3 separate regions of the Homo sapiens genome follow, and all the other regions are linked to region 1. Evidence: promoter capture Hi-C in human tissues and cell types (Jung and others, 2019). All regions are on one chromosome and are shown on one strand. The core of a region is centred on a gene start or on the middle of the fragment in contact, and the rest is flanking DNA. Distances in the headings are between cores, read along the strand shown. Region 1 holds the start of WBP2NL (WBP2 N-terminal like). Region 2 overlaps MEI1 (meiotic double-stranded break formation protein 1). Region 3 overlaps MEI1 (meiotic double-stranded break formation protein 1).

Region 1 (2,617 bases), core at 61-2,560:
GTTGGGAGAAAAGGAAATTGAGGGCAAGTCAGAGCCCAGAAAGGAGCGCAATTTAGAACTGCACAGCGGGGGAGACTGAGTTTGAGTGTAGGAAACGGGAAAGGGGGCGTGTGGGGTAAAGAGGTGAGCGCAGTGGAGTCAGGCCTTAGTGAACAAGTGTGCTTGAAGGTGGAGATGGGCACCCCTCTGGCTGAGTCTGCTCCAGTAGAGAGCTCAGGGGCCAGCAGCAGGCACCGCAAGGAGCAAAGCAACTGGTGTAAGCCCCACAGCTTCCTGCGACCAACAGTGCTTTGTTGTGCCCAGGCATCTGTTCAGTCCCATCTTTTATTTTAAGACAGGATCTGGCTCTGTTACCCAGGCTGGAGTGCAGTGGTACAATCTGAGCTCACTGCAGCCCAAACTCCTGGGTTCAAGCAATCCTCTTACCATCGCCTCCCAAGCAGCTGGGATTATGGGTGCACACCACCATGGCCCACTAATTTTCTACTTTTTGTAGAGATGGGGTCTCACTATGTTGCCCAGTCTTGTCTCAAACTCCTGGGCCACCTCAGCTTCCCAAACTGTTGGGATAAGAGGCATGAGCCACTGCACCTGGCCTCAATTTTTTCAATTTTGTTTTTAAAAGCAGACATCTCCCTGGTTGGAGCAAGGAGGAAACATGGCTTTAGAAAGTTTCCAGGTCCAAGGAGAAGCCCCACAACAGTTTGAGATCTTTCCAGAATGATCCACACTCGACCTCCTCATCCCTCTTACCAAAGAGCGACACCTTGTTCGTGGAAGTAGGAGGAGATACACACCCAGTACCTGTCCTCATCCAACAAAGTCGCAGGCACCCAAGGGCAGCCACGCTGCCACCGAAGGCCCCCGGCTGCTCACAACCGCCGGTCAGCTCCGGCCTCTCTTCGAAGGACACACGCGTCTCGCACCCCCTCCCCGCCCCGCCCTGAGGAGACATGCGTCTGGGCCCCGCGCCTTGAAAAGGCGCATTCCCACCCCCACCCCTCAAACGCGCGAGGCCACGCGTTCCGGCCTCCGCCACCTCCACATGCCGGAACACCAGTGAGGGGCGCGCGCTCCCAAAGGTCGGGGGCGGAGCTAAGAGCGCCGCGCCCAAAAAAGGCGGCAAAGTCCCTGACTCGCTGAGAGTTTGCGAGCCGCCATGTCTATCTCATTCGTCTCCTCTCCTCCGACAGCACGCCGTGCTTCCCCTCAGGCACCTTTCACCGTTAGGGATGAGGGCTCCGCGGCGGTTCTCGGTGTGGCTCTGATTCACCGCCATCTTGCTTCGGGCCTCCTGCCGCCCCGTAGATGGAAAGGGGCGGGACCTGCGCCGAGCTGTGGGGCGCGGTTCTGAAGGGGAGGGCGGAGATTATGACGTAAGGAGGAGGAGGAGGAGGAGCGAGACCGGGTCACGTGGTGGGGCAGTGCCCGGGGAGCGGGGCGGAGTCAGGGTAGAGGCCCCCGCCGAGAAAGGGGAGAAAGAGGCGGGCCCTGAGAATTGGCTCGAGCGCGAAGGGGTGAGTGATAGGTGAGTGGCCTCCCGACCTCACCTGCCCCCTTAGCCCCCTGCCTTTAGGTATGGACTTGGGTTGGTCCTGTCAGGAATGATCTCAGCTCACTGCACCTCCAACCTCCCATGCTCAAGCCATCTTCCCACCTCAACCTCCCATCCATTACTCACTTTGGTTATGAAACACTAGAAAATAATGACTGAGGCCCGACCTGACGCCAACTGAAGATGAACTGACCTCACAAAGTGTTTTCATCTCTAATATCTGTGGCTATTTCTTACCAAGAGAGTCTCACCCTCCACACATGGGTGAGATGACATAATGGCTGATTTGGTCAAGGAGCACAAATAAGACAGGCCAGGCAGTTACTGTTCAAACAGCAATGTTTAGTTGTACAACACATAAAGTCTAGCAACAATTACAGGACCAGTTTGAGTGTCTGTTTGCTTGTTTTCAATTGGGAAATTTAACTGTAATGTCACCGTAAGATTGGCTGGGACTGGTAACATTTAAGAAACGGGTTGTTCTTGCATCCCCTAGGCGTGGGCCTCTTGCTCCATCAGGACTTGGTTGTAGATGAATGGCCCACAAGTCACCAGCCTTTGAGCAAGTTGTGTCCAGGTGGAGACAGGAAGAGGGTGGGCAAAGGGGAATTCTATAAAGACACAGTGTGTGGGGCAGTGGCAGTCAACATTCGCAAACATTCATGCATCTGATGGGGGGCTTTGCCCTCCCTTGGGTATTTTCCATTAGCCTACAGTGACCACCTGTGGTCAGGCTAATTCATTACTCACATTAATGGGGAAGGGGGTTGGGGGTAGGAGTAGGTAGGGTAGGTGGGAAGAGATCCCTCTTATTGCTGAGTGGACAGAAGGGTGCTAGTTTTTCCTTAGCGTGTACATATTGTGGGTTTCTGGGGGTTTGTGTGTGTGTTTAGTTTTTGTTTGTTTGTTTGGACAGAAGAAAGTCAACTCCAGCAATGTCTTCTTAGGAAAACCACTCTTCCTCAGTGGCTGCGTTATGAGGTGGGGAGGATGTACAACCGCACTCTGGGACAGCCACAAGTGGTGATTTTTTAAAAAGTGATCCTAGCCCTTGCTCCCCAA
Region 2 (2,617 bases), core at 72-2,571, 240 kb after region 1:
ACCACCAGCCACCCACCTCTGTGCACTGACCTGTCTTCATGGATGTAGGCCAAGTAGAAGAGGAGCAGGATGCAGTACTGTCTCTGGCGAGCAGCTCCCTCCATGTACTGGCGATCAGACAGGAAGGCAAGGCTTTCAGGGCTCCTGCTGCTTATCTGGGGCAGCCCATGCTGCAGGAGCTCAGACACTGCAGAGAGTTCTAGGGAGGGAATAAGTAGAGGAAAGCCACACAGAGAACATAGAAGAACAGGTAATCAGCACATTAGTACCTACTACATGCAGAGTACTGCACAGGGCAGCAAGGGTAAATGCAGTATAGTGGGAAATAAGGAAATCAGAGGCTCCTCTTCCTTTGAGCAAGGTTCAACCTACCGGGAAAGACTAAACTTCACAAGCAGAAGGACATGGATATGTCTCAAAAATTAACGTTCATTCCTTTTTTGTTTTGTTTTTCTTTTGACAGAGTCTCGCTCTGTTGCCCATGCTGGAGTGCAATGGCATGATCTCGGCTCACTGCAACCTCCCCGTTCTGGGTTCAAGCAATTCTCCTGCCTCAGCCTCCCAAGTAGCTGTGATTACAGGCACCCACCACCACGCCCAGCTAATTTTTTGTATTTTTAGTAGAGGCAGGGTTTTGCCATGTTGGCCAGGCTGGTCTCAAACTCCTGACCTCAGGTGATTCACCCACCTTGGCCTCCCAAAAACATTCATTCTTTCATTCATTTGACATATGTTCATTGAGTGGCTACTACTCAGGACAGGCTGTGAGACCCAGGCCCTACCTCCAGGAACTGGCAGCTGATGGGAAGAGACACATAATGAGACAGGCAATTGCAGGACATGTGATCAGCGCTATATTGAGGAGGGAGTGACTCAGGCTGCCTGGCATGGGGAAGGAAAGGTCAAAGAGGAAGAAACTGTGGGCCAGGCTGTAATCCCAGCACTTTGGGAGGCTGAGGAGGGTATATCACCTGAGGTCAGGAGTTCAAGACCAGCTTGGCCAACATAGTGAAACCCCGTCCCTACAAAAATACAAAAATTAGCCGGCTATGATGGCGGGCGCCTGTAATCCCAGCTACTTGGGAGGCTGAGGTGGGAGAATCGCTTGAACCTGGGAGGCAGAGGTTGCAGTGAGCTGAGATGGCACCATTGCACTCCAGCCTGAATGACAAGCGCGAAACTCCATCTCAGAAAAAAGAAAGCAAGCTTTGGGAGGCCGAGGCTGGCGGATCACGAGGTCACGAGATCAAGACCATCCTGGCTAACACGGTGAAAACCCGTCTCTACTAAAAATACAAAAAAATAGCCAGGCGAGGTGGCGGGCCCCTGTAGTCCCAGCTACTTGGGAGGCTGAGGCAGGAGAATGGCGTGAACCCAGAAGGCGGAGCCTGCAGTGAGCCGAGATCATGTCACTGCACTCCAGCATGGGCGACAGAGCGAGACTCCGTCTCAAAAAAAGAAAGAAAGAAAGAAACAAACTGTGGAGGGTGAGGAGAAAAGAGGCAGCGACAGGAGAAAAGAGAAAAGGAAGCAAGGTGTTCAGAGGCCTGAAGGCATGAGAAGACATGCCATGTTTCCATTCAGTGTCACTGGATAGTCAGTGAATAGATGTGGGGTGTCAGAAGCTGGGGAACTATGTGATGTAATCTGCAGTTGGACTGTGAAAGACCTTTAAGCAAATGCCACTTAAGGAATTGGGACTTCATCCTGAGGGCAGAGACTTCTAGATTTCTTACGAAAACGGTTTCATAAAAGAAAGAATATTTTAATACCAAAAGAACAGGAAAGAAGGATAGGCGTGGTGGCTCAAGCCGGTAATGCCAGCACTTTGGGAAACCAAGGCAGGTGGATCACCTGAGGTCAGGAGTTCGAGACCAGCCTGGCCAACATGGCAAAACCCTGTCTCTATTAAAAATACAAAAATTAGACAAGCGTGGTGGCAAGTGCCTGTAGTCCTAGCTACTCAGGAAGCTGACGCAGGAGAATTGCTTGAACCCGGGAGGTGGAGGTTGCAATGAGCCGAGATCACGCCACTGCACTCCAGCCTGGGCAACAGAACAAGACGCTGTCCCAAAACAAAAAAAAAGGAAAGAAAAAGACTGACTTCAGAGTTTAAAATTTGAATAAAGGCCAGGTGCGGTGGCTCACACCTGTAATCCTAGCACTTTGGAGTCCAAGGCAGGTAGATTGTTTGAGGCCAGGAGTTCAAGACCAGCCTGGCCAACATGGCAAAACCCCATCTCTACTAAAAATACAAAAAAATCACCTGGGCATGGTGACATATGCTTGTAGTCCCAGCTATTCGTGAGGCTGAGACACAAGAATCACTTGAATCTGGGAGGTGGAGGTTGCAGTGAGCTGACATCACTCAACTCCAGCCTGGGCAACAGACTGAGACTCTGCCTCAAAAAACAAAACAAACAAAAAAACCTAAATAAAGTCAACTTTATCCTTATGTTCCACATTTCACCATGGACCAGAGAAAACTTCATCACTATTTGACACTACTCCACAGACTGATGTGTGGAGACCACAGCTGAAAGCCAGGGGAGTTAAGATGTTAAGACTTTGTTTTCAGATAATCCTTCCAGCAGTGAGTGGATGAGAGATTGAAAGA
Region 3 (2,617 bases), core at 32-2,531, 200 kb after region 1:
AAAAATAAATAAAAAGAATGTAAAAAATATAATTTTATTCATGAAACAAAATTTTTTGTTTTTTTTCTGGGACAGAGTCATGTTTTGTCGCCCAGGGTGCAGTACAGTGGTGTGATCTTGGCTCACTGCCCTCCGCATCCCCGATTCAAGCGATTCTTGTGCCTCAGCCTCCCGAGTAGCTAGGACTACAGGCACATGCCACCACACCCAGCTAATTTTGGTATTTTTCATAGAGATGAGGTTTCACCATGTTGGCCAGACTGGTCTCAAACTCCTGGCCTCAGGCGTGAGCCACCGCACTTGGCCTATTCATGAAACAAAGTTTTGGCTACATTTTGACTGCAACTCATCATGTGAAGTCAGGTATGGAATTTTCCACCTGTAGCATCACATCAGCACTCAAAAAGTTTCAGATTTTGGAGCACTTTGGATTTCTAATTTTTGTATTAGGGATGCTCAACCTGTACTACAAGTACCTTAACACTCCTAGCTGATGTGAGGATTAAATATAATGCATGTAGCCGGGCATGGTGGCTCATGCCTGTAATCCCAGCACTTTGGGAGGCCGAGGGGGGCAGATCGCAAGGTCAGGAGTTCGAGACCAGCCTGTCCAATATGGTGAAACCCTGTCTCTACTAAAAATAGAAAAAAAAAAAAAAAACCTGGGCGTGGTGGCAGGCACCTGTAGTCCCAGCTACTCGGGAGGCTGAGGCAGGAGAATCGCTTGAGCCTGGGAGGCGGAGGTTACAGTGAGCCAAGATCGTGCCACTGCACTCCAGCCTGGGCGACGGAGCAAGACTCCATCTCAAAAATGAATAAATAAATATATATATATGTAAAATGCATGTAATGTGCCTGCTTTCTGTAGGAACTTAATATTAACAGGACACGGCATTGTTGTTGTCAACACTGTTAATTGACCCCTGCTTACTTTAGAAGACTAGTGCACCTAGGTCCTGAAGCATGATGCCACAGCTTCTTATGGCCTGGGAGAGCTTGCCCAGGCCAAGACAGGTCAGCCAAAGCCACACCTTGCAGAACATCACCCACCTCTTCATGAGAGAGGACACTGCTACTCCGGTACCGCATAAACTGGCCCAGGAAGAGAAGCCCCAAACACCCAGTGATTTGGCATCTCCTTCATCATAGATGCAAGAAAGGATACAGCATGTCCTGCAGGGGTGGCTGGCCTGAGGAGGTGCTAGGGGGAAGGCCCTCCAAGGAGGCCTGCAGGGTCTGGGCCATGCTGTGGTCAGCCAGGTGTCCCATGCTCTGGAGCTGCAGGGAGAAGAGGGCAGGGAAGACAGGCCTCCTCAGTGCCCATTCCACACAGGCCCTAACTGCCTCCATCCTCTGTACTTCCCTCCTCCCATTCCTTGGTTGCTGTGGCCAGAGCTCCCACCCTCCAAGAGAAGATGGTGTTGAGGGTCTAGCTTTACAGTGGCTGCATGGCCTCCCCTTCCCACCCACCTGCTGGAAGAAGCCATGCAGGGCCTGGAGTGTGGTGTTCGAGAGGGTAGACAGGTCAGCCAAAGCCACACCTTGCAGAACATCACCCACCTCTTCATGAGAGAGGACACTGCTACTCCGGTACCGCATAAACTGGCCCAGGAAGAGAAACCCCCAAACACCCAGTGATTTGGCATCTCCTTCATCATAGACAACTGCTGTGCCCCAACTTTAGGAGACACTGTCCTGAAGCCCACAGAACCTGCCTGCCTTCAAGGAGCTCAGAGTTAGTGGGCAGAGGTGGGACTGTGTCATGGGGAAGTGGGGTAAGTAAGGCAACCTGTGAGATCCTGAGAGAGCTGGCCCTCCTGACCCCTTTGGCCTTGGCTCCCTCCTACCCAACCTTGCACTGAACACTCATGGCCAAAATGAACTACGTGTGGCTCCCCTGACATACCACCATGTGCTCTTGTACCTGTTGTTTGTACTTCACTACCTGGAATACCTTTCCTCCTCTCTGCCTATTAATCTCTCAAGCCACAGCTAAAATGTTACCTTCACTGCTGAGAAGCAATTACTCTTTCCTCTTTGTTCCTACACCAACCACTGATGTACTTGTTGATGATCCACTTCGCTGTCATTCTTAGGCCTGCTGCTTTGTTATTTATTCAAGGGGCACTTACTGTGTGCCCCACAGTTAGCATCTCCTCTACTCTACCACTTGTAGCATCATATTTACATTACTAGTTTACTTGTCTGTCGTCCTCTTTAGACTGAGGGACCCTAAAGGCAGAGTATCTGGTTCATTGATATCCTTAGTATCTAGCAGACCTGGCATGTGGTAGACAGGCCCTGGTCAACATGTCATGAGAGAAATAGGGGAAAGGGTGTCGGAGTCCCCTGGAGTGAGGAGATATGGGCATTCAGAGGAATTCTTTCAGCAAGTCTCTTGTAGGGTGAAGGCCTGCCGAGCCCTTCCACCTTCTTTAAGGATTAGGGTTACCTAAAGTAAGGAGACCCTGGCCTCTTCAGCACCACCCAGCTCATGACACTCCTCAGACCACAAGATATCCTTTCTGCACTTACCAGGGTCATGAGCCTCAAAATCTCAGGTCTGAGGAAGGAATTCTCTCCAGCATCCAAGAGGGTAAACAGCAAAAACCGATTC

What was found. The method cuts DNA at HindIII sites, captures the fragments that hold promoters and counts their contacts. A contact is called where the count stands out against the background at its distance.
Region 2: a contact is called between a fragment that was not itself captured here and the fragment with the promoter of WBP2NL in region 1, in 1 of the 25 tissues and cell types used here (aorta).
Region 3: a contact is called between a fragment that was not itself captured here and the fragment with the promoter of WBP2NL in region 1, in 2 of the 25 tissues and cell types used here (H1 embryonic stem cells and small bowel).

What each region holds. Positions count from the first base shown.
Region 1 is chr22:41,997,481-42,000,097 of GRCh38, reverse strand. It overlaps WBP2NL (WBP2 N-terminal like), which reads right to left and starts at 1,310. Exons shown (of 6, transcript NM_152613.3): 1 at 1,218-1,310. The coding sequence starts at 1,279. SEPTIN3 (septin 3) reads right to left here. Exons shown (of 12, transcript NM_001363845.2): 12 at 1,877-2,617. RefSeq lists enhancers at 729-1,243, 1,244-1,760 and a silencer at 1,358-1,417. The HindIII fragment of the contact is 18,305 bases long and covers 1-2,617 here.
Region 2 is chr22:41,755,947-41,758,563 of GRCh38, reverse strand. It overlaps MEI1 (meiotic double-stranded break formation protein 1), which reads right to left. Exons shown (of 31, transcript NM_152513.4): 18 at 31-199. Among named protein-coding and RNA genes, the nearest start is that of CCDC134, 43 kb to the left of the region's middle. The HindIII fragment of the contact is 4,539 bases long and covers 1-2,617 here.
Region 3 is chr22:41,794,396-41,797,012 of GRCh38, reverse strand. It overlaps MEI1 (meiotic double-stranded break formation protein 1), which reads right to left. Exons shown (of 31, transcript NM_152513.4): 28 at 2,536-2,617; 29 at 1,471-1,602; 30 at 1,166-1,278. Among named protein-coding and RNA genes, the nearest start is that of CCDC134, 5.0 kb to the left of the region's middle. The HindIII fragment of the contact is 6,025 bases long and covers 1-2,617 here.